Regions from separate parts of the Homo sapiens genome. Here all the other regions are linked to region 3. The links are contacts of gene promoters, found by promoter capture Hi-C in blood cells and fetal thymus (Javierre and others, 2016). All regions are on one chromosome and are shown on one strand. The core of a region is centred on a gene start or on the middle of the fragment in contact, and the rest is flanking DNA. Distances in the headings are between cores, read along the strand shown. Region 1 overlaps LINC02696 (long intergenic non-protein coding RNA 2696). Region 2 has its middle 3.8 kb from the start of EXT2. Region 3 holds the start of CD82-AS1 (CD82 antisense RNA 1). Region 4 overlaps LOC105376652 (a long non-coding RNA gene). Region 5 has its middle 18 kb from the start of LINC02696.

Region 1 (2,700 bases), core at 23-2,522, 750 kb before region 3:
CCACATCTTGTGCTTCAGGCTCCACTCTATGTAGCATTTGACCCCCTGGCCTTTACCAGCCTTCCTGTTTCAATGTACCTGAGATGAGATGGCAGCAGCTTTGGGGAAGCAGAATCCATTCGTACATTCATTCATTCATTCATTCATATGTCACAGACTATTTGAAGTTCTGGGGATACAGTCATACAATATAGACAAGATGTTTATTTTCAGGGAGCTTACATATTAATGGGAGGAGACAGTCAATAAACAAAGGAAGATACAAGAAAATAGCAGTAATGATGAGTGTTGTGGTGAAACTGAATCAGGATGACGTGACAGAGAGTAACAAGGGGGTACATGAGTTTGGGTGGTCAAGGGAGGACTTATTTGAAGAGGTCACATTGAAATTCAGCTCTAAACAAGAGAGGGCCAGCTCTGCAATAACTGGGTGAAGAGGGTTCCAGCAAAGGGAACAGCTAGTGCAAGGACCCTAAGGCAGGATAAAACTTGGCAGGTTGAAGAAAGAAAGATAGTATGTCTGGATTATAGTGAGTGAAGGGGTAGGGAGTGGTACCAGATTGAGTCCAGATCACATAGGGCACAGTAATTAGTGGGGGAAGACAATAATTCTAAACACAAAAGTGATAGAATCTAACTTACATTTTAAACAAATATTTTGGCTGCTACTGTGTGGTGAATGGACTGGGATGGTGAAAATGGGTCAGAAGATTAGAAGCAGGGAAGTTAAATGAAAAGGATCTTGCAGTTAACCAGGTAAAGGATGATGATGCCTGGGTTAGGGTGGTGGAGATAAGAACAGTGAATGGATTTAGGATATATTTTAGAATAAAAGCGGATCGAATTTGTTGATGGGTGAGCTGTGGGGAATGAAAGAGGGAATCAAGATTGTTCCCAGGTTTTTGCTTTGAGTGCACTAATGATGGCACCATTAGTTGACATAAGGAGCCCTGGGAGAGGAAGAGATTGGGGGCAGGAAAGGAAGAGTTTGACTTAGACATGTTAATTTGAGATATTTATTAATGAACCCACTGAAGCCCCCATCTCATACTTTATATCTATCACTATACCAAGAACTATGAGATCCAAGACCTTGCCTTCCTTTTCAATTCCTTGTTAAGCAGGAATAAAGTGAAAAATTACTGAATAAAATATTCAGTTTTTTTGCAAAACACTCTTACGTTCAGAGGTTTGGTAGCAGAGCCATATCTTCCCAGGCAGGCATAAGTAGCCAATCAATCTCCATGTCATACCAAGCAACGGTCCAAGGGGCAAACTAATTAAAAATTTAATCCCATGATTTTCATCTTAATCTCTTTTTCCCATTAGCTTTGATCAATGCCTACAACTACAATTTAACCAAACTTTTCATTTAGATAAATGACTCAGTGGGGTACCTATTTAGTCCGTTTGTTATGAACCAATGGATAACTAAAATGTATATGCTAATTACTAAAGACCACACACTAATTTTCAAAGCATTTTATTAGCACAAAAGCTGTGTTCCTGTTATCAAATGAAATGCGCTTCCTATGTTACACTCAGTAGTTGTTCAAACCAGTTTCTCTTGACTTCAGTAGCCAAATTGCAGCATGCTGTGTAGGTACACAGTGCACTTGAGAAATGTCTGCACATCCCAACCCTGCACTATATCACAAGCAGTAGTGAAAGGTGTAGCAAATAAGAAGATTCCATGAACTTCTCAGCTACCTGAGACTTCTGCTGCACCCTGAAAAAAAAAATCAGGCTAGAAACCACATAAAACAACTAAACCAAACTGAATGCAGGGGCTGCTATGAGGAAGAATGAACTTTGCAGCCTGTTCCAAATGCTAAGGTGAAGGAGGTCCTTCCTGGCTCTGCTCACTAGGTGTGCAAGTCAGGAGATATTCATTTCGTGATCATCCTTTCCTATCACCTGTGGTGAAATTTCTACTGCTTTCAAGTCTTCCAGCCCCTATTTGAATGCCAAAATTCTTAAGTTCCTTCAAGTAAAAGAGATCTTCATTTTAAAAATAAAAGTCAATGGCTCTGGTCTCCTGTAGCCTTTTCAGCCCCTGTAACAGTGCTTTCTCACTTAGATTTTCACTGTCACTTCAATAAAGGGGTGAGAAGAGAGAACTGGCCTGCGATCAATGAAAACTATTCAGTAAAAACTCTTCATGCCAGACATGGCCCCAGAAACAGGAGGAAAGTTTACCAGACAGCAGGAGTGGGTGGTGGCTGGGTCCAGTGGAATGGGTAAACCTAAAAGGGGACGAAAATGGTTTTCAGGCTGCTGTGGCCCTCTCTACACACAAATTTTGTGGCCATGAAGTCCTGGCTACTAAGCATCATTGTCTTTGCGCAACCGCTGCACCTGCCACTTCCCTCAACCCATTAATAATCGGGTTCCTGGGAGGATTTTCATCCCCAATTTACTGGACATGCCTCCGAGCCACCTCCCCGCTCCGGCCCTCCCTCTCGTTGGTCGCCTTCAGACTCCCCCACACGCGGGACGGCCCCTCCCCCCACCCTCCTCACCGGCTAGCCGCGGCCAGCAGAGCCTTCGAGCGGCTCTGTCAGGCTGCCCTGGAGCGTAAGGAAGAAGAAGGCGCGAAGGAAGAAGACTTCCTCATATTCTTGGCTTCCAAGGGGCGCTAGGGCAACAGAGGGGGAAATGACGTAGCTTCCATCCCGGAAGCGAAAATTGGGCGCGGGT
Region 2 (2,700 bases), core at 65-2,564, 510 kb after region 3:
ATAAATTATAAGCCAGGACCTGAAGTTTCTGAGAAGGCAGAAAAGCGTCTTAGTAGCTGGTGGTTGAAGGAGGAGAGGTTGTAGAAAGATACTGCTTTACTGAATTTGAAGTTACAGGGCAAAGCAAAGATTACACAGATACCCCCTTACCCAGTGAGTCAGGAAATATGAAAGTCAGGATTAGAAAGGGAATGGCTTTCGTGGAAAATAGTGTCATCAGGGGAAAGTGAGTTTCCAATTAGGAGAAAGAGCTGGTGTAGGGTTGAATCCCATATTTAGCACTTCCTCTAAATACAGTTGATTCTTGAACAACACAGGTTTAAACTTTGCAGATCCACTGCTGTGCAGATTTTTTTTCAACAAAAGTTACACCAAGTGTGCCTGCCTCTCCAGCTTCTCTTTCCACCTCTGCTACCTATTCTGCCTCTGCCACTCCTGAGACAGTGAGACCAACCCCCCTTCCTTCTCCTCCTTGGCCTACACAACATGAAGATGAGGAGGATGAAGATCGTTATGACTTCCACTTAATGAATAGTAAATATATTTTTCTTCCTCCTGACTTTCTTAATAACATTTTCTTTTCTCTTGCTTACTTTATTGTAAGAATACAGTATTTAATATATATAACATATAAAATATGTTTAATAGACTATTTACATTATCAGTAAGGTGTCCAGTCAACAGAAGGCTATTAGTAGTTAAGTTTTGGGGGAGTCAAAAGTTATACATCATTTTTCAACTGCTTAGGGGATTGGCACCCCAACCCCCACATTATTCAAGAGTCTACTGTAACAGAGATATCCAAGAATGGAAAAAGGCATATTCTCTAAAGAAAAGGGCTCCATAATATAATTGATCTGTGGGACCTTAGGTTGGCTCAGCTTAAAACAGCACTGGCAGGCAGCATGGTAGGCTAAAAAACACCTAACCAGGTGAAATATAAGGAATACCTTCTCAAGTGAATAGCTGAGCTTACGCACAAAAAAAAGGAAGGAAAACATCCAAAGTCAAAAATGAAGCTTAAATAATAGAAATGACATTGAAGCTACAACTATCTTGGGCATACAAGGCAGGAAGCTGATACAAAGAAACCCATAAAGCTAGGATCTTAAAGAATTACACCCAACAGGGAATACTGGAAAAAATTTGCTCAACATCCACCAAAGAAACTTACCTGTCTTGTCCAGGGAATGGAAAAAGAAGAGAGTCTCACTGATGATCTTTAACACGCATATCTTAGTCAGTTCGGGCTGCTATAACAAAAATACCACAGACTGGGTGGCTTAAACAACAGGAATTTATTTCTCCCAGCTCTAGAGGCTAGGAAGTCCAAGATCAAGGTGCTGGCCAATTTGGTTCCTGATGAGGGCTCTTTTTCTGGTTTGCAGAGGGTTACCTTCTTGCTATATTCTCATATGGTGGAGAAAAAGACCTTTCTGTGTCTCTTCTTGTCAGGGCACTAATCCTACTCATGAGGATTCCACCCTCAAGACCTAATTACATCCCAAAGGCCCCACCTCCAATAATCATCACACTGGGGATTAGGACTTCAACATATGAAGGAGGTGTGGGAGGGGATGAACATTCAGTTCATAGCAATCAAGCTTTATGACCATCTGGGGTTTGAATTTATACCACCAGCATGGTCTAGGAAGCTCCAAGCCAGGATAGTAACATACAGTATTCCCAGGTTGGTAGCACCCAAAGACATCCAACAGAAGGAAACATAAATCCCCTCTGGAGACCCACATCCTCAACACAAGCTACCTAGGATTCTGACAAATAAAACCCTGACAAATGTAAACTCACAATGCAGAACTATAAAGCATATGAGAAAACAAACCACCAGAAATCACAAACAGCAGAAATTTAACCCCCAAGAACTACATATAATTGAATTATGATACATAAATATAAAACAAGTATGTTTATACCACTCAAAGACTTAAAATGAAATGTAAAACATTACAAAGAAATAAGATGTTATATTTTTAAAAGACCAAGGAGACTGAAAATGTACTAAATATAAACATTGAAATTGAAAAGTCAATGCATAAGTTAAATAGTAGGTTAGAAACAACAACGATCGATCTGAAAGACAGGAAACGAATTAAATATAGGAAAGAGAAGTTAAGAGAGGGAGAGGAGAGATGAAGAAAATGGCACATATCTAAAAGGAGGGAATAGAGAAAAGGAGGTGAAGGTAATATCCAAGGAGATGATAGCTAAGAATTTTCCAAAATTGAGCAGAGATGATCACCTGCAATGAACTAACAATGAGACTAATAGCAGACTTCTCAACAACAAAAACCTAAAGCCAAAAAATCATAGTAAAAAGGCTGAGAGGGCAATAGTTAATGATGTATAATTGTATGCCCAATAACACCATCTTTGAAGAATAACAGGGAAGTAAAGATATCTTAGACAAATACAAATAGAAAGAGATTACCATCAGTAGATCCTTCCTAAAGGAACTTCTTAAGAATGTTAGGAAGGAAAACATTAAAACCAAAAGGAAGTACTGCAATGAAGTAGGGCTGGGAAACAATGAAACTGATAAACCTGTGGGTAAATCAAAACAAACACTGACTGTATAAAACTAGAAAAATAATTTAGAAATTTAAAAACTAGGGCCGGGCATGGTGGCTCATGCCTATGTAATCCCAGCACTTTGGGCAGCTGAGGCAGGTGGATCACTTG
Region 3 (2,786 bases), core at 85-2,584:
GTAGGTGCTTCTTACGTGATAACTGTGACTCACAATTAACTGGCTCACCCAACAGCCATTCTTGGCTCCTTTCTCTCTTGTGCCTCTGTCTTTAGAGTCTGAAAGTTGGATACTCACATTCTCAGCCTCTTTTGCAACCAGGGGTGGCTTTGTAACCCAGTCTGGGGAAGTCTGTTGGAGGACTTTTTTTTTTTTTTTTTTTTGAGACAGGGTCTCACTCTGTTGCCCCAAGCTCTGTTTCATGGCTCCCTGTAGCCTCAACCTCCTGGCCTCAAGGATCCTCCTGCCTCAGCCTCCTGAGTAGCTGGGACCACAGGTGAACACCACCATGGCTAGCATTTTTAAAAATTTGTTTGTAGAAATGGGGTCTCACCATGTTGCCCAGGCTAGTCTCAGAGCAATCCTCCCACCTCTGCCTCCCTAAGTATTGGGATTACAGTCATGAGCCACTGCGCCTTTTCTGATAAAAGGGATGGCCATGTCTGGCACTGCCCACTTCCCCATCTTCAGGCCACAGCGGCACAGACATCGTGCCTGGTGCTGTGGCAGCCATCTTGGAACCACGAGGTAAGTGTCATAATGCAGGAAAGCCATCCCAGCGAGGATGCTCAACAGCCAGAACCAGGGCCTCTGAGCTTCCAAACCAGACTTCCGGTCAAGTCAACCACAGATGTCCTTCAACTTTAAGCCGCTGTAAGTCTGATTTTCTGTTTCTGAAAGCTGAACATCTCCCCTCGGACACAAGACTGATGTTTTTATTAACGGTCTCCTTCTAAACCTCATTTGTGGGTGAGTGGCATGGATTTAATAGTTGCTAAAGTATCTTAATAATAACAAGAATAACATTTATTGAGTACTTATGGTGCCATGCGCTATGTGTTTCACTCAGATAATCTCGAATAATCTTTGCAACCACTCTGAGAGTTCAGTTTTCTTATTGTTTCCATTTTACAGATGGTGGAACAGGCACATAGAGGCAAGCAGCTTGCCCAAGGCCACACAGCTAGAAAGCAGGGGGGTCAGGCTAAGATCCAGGCCCAGCGGGGACTGCCCACACCTGCCGCCTTCTCTTCTAACGCTCCCCCATTTGATCACAAGGAATAGTGTCCAGGAGGCCGTCCCTGACACCTACTGGATCTGTCTGTGACAACTGGGGGGGTTCCTTGTCCATCCCCCACACTCAGTCAATCACCCCCATGGTTGGTCCAGCCCAGTGAAGAGGGAGGGAGAGAGGGGCTTACCTTGCCCATGTTGAAGTAGAAGAGGGCCCCGGCCGTCACCTGGGCAATGAGGATCAGGAGCAGGAAAGCAAAGTACTGGGGACACAGAGCAGGCACAAAGTCAGCTGAGGGTCCCCGACCAGGTGCACCCAGCCTGCGTGCCCCGAGAGATGCTCTCCACCCGATGTTACGGCCAGCGCCGCGGTCAGGCTGCACTCGGCTGGATGAGAGGAAATGGGCAGGCAGCTGCGGAGGGATCCGTACTCACCAGCCCCAGCAGGCAGCGGACCTCGTTGACGGCGCCGATGCAGCCCAGGAAGCCCATGAGCATAGTGACTGCCCCCACGCCGATGAAGACATAGGCCCCCATCCTAAGCGAGCTGGAGGAGGTTTCTAGGGGGAAGAAGAAGTACAAAATCAGTGGGCACAGCAGGTATAAACACCTGGCCTAACCGTCCAGGTCTTCTTCCGGATCCCCTCTTTGGAGCCAGGGTGTTGGGGTCAGCTGCATTCCCCTGCTGGCTTCTCACTGCCCAACAGGGAACCAGGTCACCCCCATCCCCACTTGTGTCCCTCCCCCAGTAAAATTGCAATCCACACCCTCATCCAGCCTAAGCCCCTTCCCGGCTTTATTTTTTACTTCGTAAGGCTTCTCAGGATTGAATAGACTACATTTCACTGATTCTTCTTGCTCATTGTCTGCTCTCCCCCTCCACCAAGGACCTGAGGTGCATGAGGGCAGAAGCTTCACTTTATTCCTGGGGAACCCCCAGCTCGAACAGCGCCTCTCGCAGTGAGGTGCTGTGCACAGTGAATATCTGCGGAATTGACAGACAAGAGGCTGGCTGGTTCTCCAGGGGCCACTGACATTAAGATTCCAAGCTGATTTTTAACCCGCCTTCCTTCTTGTCCATATAATAACAAACACCAGCCTTTCTTGCCCACTCACTGTGCCTCATGGGCTTTCCACACGCCGTCTCCAACTCTGACATCACCCTGCCTGGCAGGCACTAGCATGGCCATTTCACAGAAGAAAAAAATGAGGCTCAGAAAGGCGAACAGGCAAGGGCCTGAGCTGGAATTTGAAAATATGCAAATCTCCAGTGCCACACTCTTTCCACTGATGCACGGGGCACATGTATTGCTACAGGTGTGCTGCATGTTCATTCGGCCAAGAAATGTTTACTGGGTGCCCACTTCATGCCAGGCACTGTGCCAGTTGCTGGGGATGCAGAAGAGTGACTAACAAGGTCTGACATTTGGGGGTGGGGAGTGGAGACAAAAAGTACACAATACAGGTTTTCTGGTTGTGTTGGGCGCCATGAAGATACCAAAGCTGGCTAACTGCAGAGAACTGCTGGGCTGGGAGAGGGTCAGAATGGGTCGACGAAGGCCAGCCTGAGCCAGTGACATTTGAGCCAAGACATGAATGAAGAAGTCAGCCAAGCAAAGATCTGTAAGAAAAGCATTCCAGGCAGGGAACACAGCAGGTGCAAAGGCCTGAGGAAGGAGGAGCTTGGTTATTTGAAGATTGGAAAGAAGGTGAGAGAACGGACCAGTGAGAGC
Region 4 (2,700 bases), core at 143-2,642, 530 kb before region 3:
TGCTGTTGGAAAGCTAGGATTTGGAAAGCTATTGATTTTTATAAATGTATATTCTGACCAGCTATCTTACTAAATTCACATATTGTTTTCATTAGTTCTGAGTTGATTCTTTGGGACTTTTTTGGTAGACAAGAGTATCTCATGCAAATAATTACTTTGTGCCTTCCTTTTAAAAAATATTTATGAATCTTGGTTAATTTTCTTATATTATTGCATTAGCTAGAAGCTCCAAAACAATGATTAGGAATGGAGACAGCAAGCATTCTTGTTTGCTAAGGCAGGTTTTCTCCTGTTTTCATGATGTTTCCTGCAGCCTTCTGATAATCTCATTACATTCTAGAAATGTCCTTTTATTCCTATTTTAGTAGGAGAGAGAGAGAGAGAGAGAGAGTATAATTAAAATTGGATTCTTCTTTTTAGAGATGGGGTCTCACTATGTTGCCCAGGCTGGGCTCAAACTACCCTCCTGCCTCAGCCTCCCTAGTAGCTGGGTCTACAACTGTGTGCCACTGTGCCCAGCTAAAATGGAATTTTTACCAATGCCTTTTTTTGTATCTATCAGTATCAGCACCTATTTTTCCATATTAACCTCTAGATGTAATGATTATTGCTCTGCAATAATTTGCAAACATGGAAAACATTATAGGATTTGATAATTATTAAGTCATCTTTGAATTTCTAGGATAAAATATGTCAAGTTCTTCCTTAATATGCTGCTGCATCAAATTGCTATTATACATTTTTTAAAAATTAAAAAAAATGTGTGGCTAATTATAATGTTGAAATACTATTCTTTTTTTTTTTTTTTTTTTTTTTTTCGTGAGACAGGGTCTCACTCTGTTGCTCAGGCTGGAGTGCAGTGGTGCAATCTCAGCTCACTGCAGCCTCGACCTCCCAGGCTCAAGCGATTCTCCCACCTCAGCCTCCCAAGTAGCTGGGACTACAGGCACGTGCCACGACATCCAGCTAATTTTTGTATTTTTTGTAGAGACAGGGTTTTGCTGTGTTGCCCAGGCTGGTCTCAATCTCCTGAGTCAAGCGATCTGCCCACCTCAGCCTCCCAAAGTGCTGGAATTACAGGCTTGTGCCTCCACACCTGTCTGCTATTCTAAGTTTTTGTGTGAGTGGGCTTTGTTAGTTTTGAACTCAAGTTTATACTAGTCTCTATAACTTTTTTTGTAACTGCCTGAGATTATTTTGTCGGGGAGTACGCTTATGAGTCTCAAGGAACATGATCGTAAGACTAAAGTTTTCTTCTATATCTCCTGCATTAACCCTATTTCAGCATGAGCTATTTGGTCCGAGTATTCAGTTCAGGCCACTGACTCACTCTCCTTGCATGTCCAGAAAATTTTCACTGTCTCTTCCCATTTTTAAACAAAGGACTCGCCTAATCACCATTGGTAGCTGATGTGAGCTTTCCCAGCAATTGTGTAGGTGAGTCATTGATTTCCCATGTGTGCCTTGCCCTCTGGGGGTGTATAGAGATGTAGGGTAGTCTTAGGTGAGCTTCACCCAGCTGCAGAGGGCAAAGGCTGGCAGAGAGATTGCCCTTCAGGGTTCCTGTGCCAGGAAGCAGATTGGCATTTGGGGGCCCATCTCAAACAGTGCTGATGGCTGTGGCAGTGCTTAGCTGGCAAAATCCATTTGGTTTAGCCTGCTCTCTGCATCAAATGAGACCCGTGAGCTGGGGTGTATGTTGAGGCAAGCTGCTCTGTTTGGAGGATCCAAATTTGCCATTCTTGAGTTACTCCTCCCTAACTGTATGTCTAGCCTCCACTATGTGCCCGTTGGGGATCTGTGTCTAGTTAGTACTATCATTAGTGCTGCACATGCCAGTAGAAGAAGGGAAGGAGTTACCAAGGGAGAGGATTCCACTGCTGTGCTGAGCTCCACTGGCCAGTGCCCGAAACTCAGCGAACACTGGTTTGAGCAAAAAGAATAACGTGTTGGCTCCTATAACTAAAAAAATCTGGGTCAGGCTTCAGGCATGGCTGGATCAAGCTGTTAAAACAATATCATCAGAAATATGTCTTTATCCATCTTCCCACCTATGAAGAAAAAGTTATGGCCAGAAAGTTATGAGAATTGGGGAAAGCAAGTCATCTTGGGAACCAAGAGAGCAGAGCATTCAGAAAGAGAAAGTGGACAATAGGGTTAAATGCAACAGGGAGGTCCAGTAAGATAAGAACTTAAGGATTTCCTCAGATTTCATGATAGGAGTCACTTATGTCCTTAACAAGAACAATTTTAGTGGTATTACCCCATGGAAGTGGTATAGCAGATTGGAATGAGTTGAGGAGAAAATGAGAGGTAAGGAATTAGAAAAAGAAAGCACAGATTATCTTTTTGAGCTATTTGGATGAAAAGTGTTAGAAAGAGAAGGCAGAGTTAAATATTTTTATTGTTTAAAGGTTGGGAGAAAATTGGATGTGTTTCCAGCTTATGGGAATGCAGCTGGCAGAGAAGGCAAGGTTAACAGCAGAGAGGTAACACCAGAAAGAGGACTTTTACTTTAATTTGGGGATGGGGATGGGGATGGGGTATGTGTGGCACATTCTTAAGCAGGGTGTTGCTCCTCTTTCCACAGCAAGATGGCTGAGCCATCAGTATTTTCCTGGGTTTTGCTCAATCTTTGCTGTCCCTGGGCTGGCTTTAGGAATTGGAGAAGTATACTCATCAGAGGATTTCTAAAGCGCC
Region 5 (2,718 bases), core at 127-2,626, 730 kb before region 3:
CCCATGCTTTTTTGCCCTCTTATAATCAACCATTTTTCTATAATTAAAATGATTTTCTTAAAATGCAAATAACTTCTCTACTTCAATCTTCTAGGGTTTAACAAAACAATCCACAGCTTCCATGCATGCTAAAAGGGTGCTGCGAAATCTGGCCCAGTGACCCATTGAGGTCATCTTTGCTCACTCTCTTTTCACCATTCAATAAACCCGCTGGCCTTCTTTCTTATCTGTGACCAAGGCCAAGCTCATTTCTTTCTCGGGGCTCTTGCTCTTGCTGTTCCATTTGGAGGCATTGACCTGATCCCTCTCCGGGGGATTCTTCTTGGCACTTAGATTGGGGTTCAAATGTCTACCAGGCCTTCCTGGATATCTGACTCAATGCAGCACTACTGCAAGACCATTCTCTGGATGGCTGTGGACCGACCCAGTTCTCCCTCTTTTCTGTCATAGCTCCCAAGAATCGCTGTGTAATGTGCTGGAAATGCAACATCTGGAATAGGGCGGGACTGGTCTGAGCAGGCCAGGCTCTGCTTCAGTCACTATTAGAAACAAGGTGTCCTTCAATGCGTTGACCCAGCAAGTCCTGTACCCCGTGGTCTAAAACCCAGGGCTGGTTGCCTTCAGGGCTCCGCAGCTGTGGTGCAAGTGGGGCATGTGCAGACAAGACTCCATCTGGGCAGCTTTCCTGAGGCTTGGAGACTGATACTCATGAATTCTAGGCTGCTGCTGTCCCTTGCTGACTATCTATAAGTAATAACTTGTGTATTTCCTCATGTAACTTGTGTATTTCAGTGTTCTGTTTCACAGAACTTGGGCAAGTAGTGAACGTGCAACCCAAGATCAAGTGGGTTGAAGTGGTAACTAGCGCACAGTGAGTCTGTTTCATAACTACCCCTTCCCACTGCCCAGCGCTCTGTCACTTTACCCCTTTTTATACTCAATATAAAATTGATACTCAGCATTTTATACTCAATATAAAATACTTTGCTGGAATATTGAATATAAAGTATAGTTTATACTTAATACTCCAGCAAAGCATTCGCTCTATTGAAAATAAATAGGTGGCTGGGCACCACAGCTCACACCTGTAATACCAGCACTTTGGGAGGCCAAGGCTAAAGAATCACTTGAGGCTAGGAGTTTGAGACCAGCCTGGGCAACAGAACAAGACCCCATCTCTACACAATATAAAATAAAATAAGATAAAATAAAATAAAATAAAAGTTATCCAAGTGTGGTGGCACGTACCTACAGGTAGTCCTAGCTGATTGGGAGGCTGAGGGAGGAGGATGGCTTGAGCCCAGGAGTTCAAGGCTATGAGTGAACTATATGATGATGCCATTCCCTGTACTCCAGCCTGGGTGAAGGAGTGAGACCCTGTCTCAAAAAAAAAAAAAAAAAAAAAAAGAAAAGAAAGAAAAGAATTAGGCAATTGACGGCCGTCTGTAATCCCAGCACTTTGGGAGGCCAAGGCGGGCAGATCACGAGGTCAGGAGATCAAGACCATCCTGGCTAACACGGTGAAACCCTGTCTCTACTAAAAAAAATACAAAAAATTAGCCAGGCGTGTTGGCGGGCACCTGTAGTCCCAGCTACTCAGGAGGCTGAGGCAGGAGAATGGCATGAACCCGGGAGGCGGAGCTTGTAGTGAGCCGAGATAGCGCCACTGCACTACAGCCTGGGCGGCAGAGCGAGACTCTGTCTCAAAAAAAAAAAAAAAAAAAAGAAATTAGGCAATTGACTTTTGCATATGATTATCGCCCATCTCCCCAACTGGAAGGCAACTGTCTGTCTGTCCGTACAACCCAGAGAGTGTCTGCCCCCCCCCAGCAAGTGTTCCAACAATATTTGGTGAAGAAATTCTTGAATACATTTAGAAAAAGCCAGGACTTTGTTCTTGAGAAGAAAACATGTTTTTTAAGGTAAAAAAGGTAGTCTGGGGGACTGACAGCATAGATTTTATACCACACCATAGAGTAGGAAAGAATATTCAATAGTAAATGAATAAAGTTCCTACTCAAAAGGAGACAAAAGTTCAGTTTTGGGAGGTGGAAGGAGGATCGAAGGGTTGGAACTAGAACCCACAGATGCCAGGGACCTGTGAGAAAGCCTGGGATGCGGGTGGGTGGGAGACAGTGAAGCAGAGGAGACCTGCGCCTCTCTGCCCAGGAAAAGCTGTGGTGGACACTGTGCCACCACACTGTGCCAGGTGAGGACTCCTGTGATGGACCTGTTAATGAGAGGGCCTCAAACACTCACATCCCCAAATCCTCAAGGAGGGATAGAAATGGCAGAAAGCTGGTGGGTGAACCTGGAGAGGCCTAGCAATGGGACGCAGGGGGTGCAGACGCTTAGGTACCTGATGAGGGAAGACAGAGTGGCAGTGGCTGTGACAGCAGTGAATGCAGATGATATCAGACATCAATACACAGGCCTGGCAAATTACATCAACCTCGGATGCTCCGTAGGAGGGAACTAGATGAGGGGAAGGGGAGTGCCCCTCACACCACCAATGCCTGGAGAGGACAGAGGGGAAGGAGCCTTAATTGACAGAGCTTGAGAGCACCTGACAGTGACAGTTTACCTTGAGTTGGCAGGATTGAGTTTTGCACTCCCAGGGGAGAGTAATGTGCGCGTTCACTTCCTTTTGAAAGAAATTGATGAACTCTAACACCTATGCTTGCTAAATAAGAGCAGATGTACCATCTCTTTGTAGAG

What was found. Contacts are between HindIII fragments. The CHiCAGO score rates a contact against its expected background, and 5 or more counts as called.
Region 1: a fragment that was not itself captured here is called in contact with the fragment with the promoter of CD82-AS1 in region 3 in 5 of 17 cell types (total CD8 T cells, naive CD8 T cells, total CD4 T cells and 2 more); the score reaches 6.9 in total CD8 T cells.
Region 2: a contact is called between a fragment that was not itself captured here and the fragment with the promoter of CD82-AS1 in region 3, in 3 of 17 cell types (endothelial precursors, naive CD8 T cells and total CD8 T cells). The highest score is 6.3, in endothelial precursors.
Region 4: a fragment that was not itself captured here is called in contact with the fragment with the promoter of CD82-AS1 in region 3 in 1 of 17 cell types (neutrophils); the score reaches 5.9 in neutrophils.
Region 5: a contact is called between a fragment that was not itself captured here and the fragment with the promoter of CD82-AS1 in region 3, in 6 of 17 cell types (total CD8 T cells, naive CD8 T cells, naive CD4 T cells and 3 more). The highest score is 8.2, in total CD8 T cells.

The regions. Positions count from the first base shown.
Region 1 is chr11:45,355,425-45,358,124 of GRCh38, reverse strand. LINC02696 (long intergenic non-protein coding RNA 2696) reads right to left here. Exons shown (of 2, transcript NR_120558.1): 1 at 2,523-2,700; 2 at 1,468-1,729. Among named protein-coding and RNA genes, the nearest start is that of LINC02696, 1.4 kb to the right of the region's middle. The HindIII fragment of the contact is 6,359 bases long and covers 1-2,700 here.
Region 2 is chr11:44,090,542-44,093,241 of GRCh38, reverse strand. No RefSeq gene overlaps it. Among named protein-coding and RNA genes, the nearest start is that of EXT2, 3.8 kb to the left of the region's middle. The HindIII fragment of the contact is 585 bases long and covers 1,022-1,606 here.
Region 3 is chr11:44,603,885-44,606,670 of GRCh38, reverse strand. CD82-AS1 (CD82 antisense RNA 1) reads left to right here and starts at 1,334. Exons shown (of 2, transcript NR_182290.1): 1 at 1,334-1,653; 2 at 1,941-2,163. CD82 (CD82 molecule) reads right to left here. Exons shown (of 10, transcript NM_002231.4): 5 at 1,489-1,613; 6 at 1,242-1,316. The HindIII fragment of the contact is 7,514 bases long and covers 1-1,967 here.
Region 4 is chr11:45,132,820-45,135,519 of GRCh38, reverse strand. All of the region lies in intron 3 of LOC105376652 (a long non-coding RNA gene), which reads left to right. It also overlaps a transcript of PRDM11 not described here. Among named protein-coding and RNA genes, the nearest start is that of PRDM11, 12 kb to the left of the region's middle. The HindIII fragment of the contact is 7,917 bases long and covers 1-2,700 here.
Region 5 is chr11:45,336,012-45,338,729 of GRCh38, reverse strand. No RefSeq gene overlaps it. Among named protein-coding and RNA genes, the nearest start is that of LINC02696, 18 kb to the left of the region's middle. The HindIII fragment of the contact is 3,103 bases long and covers 1-2,718 here.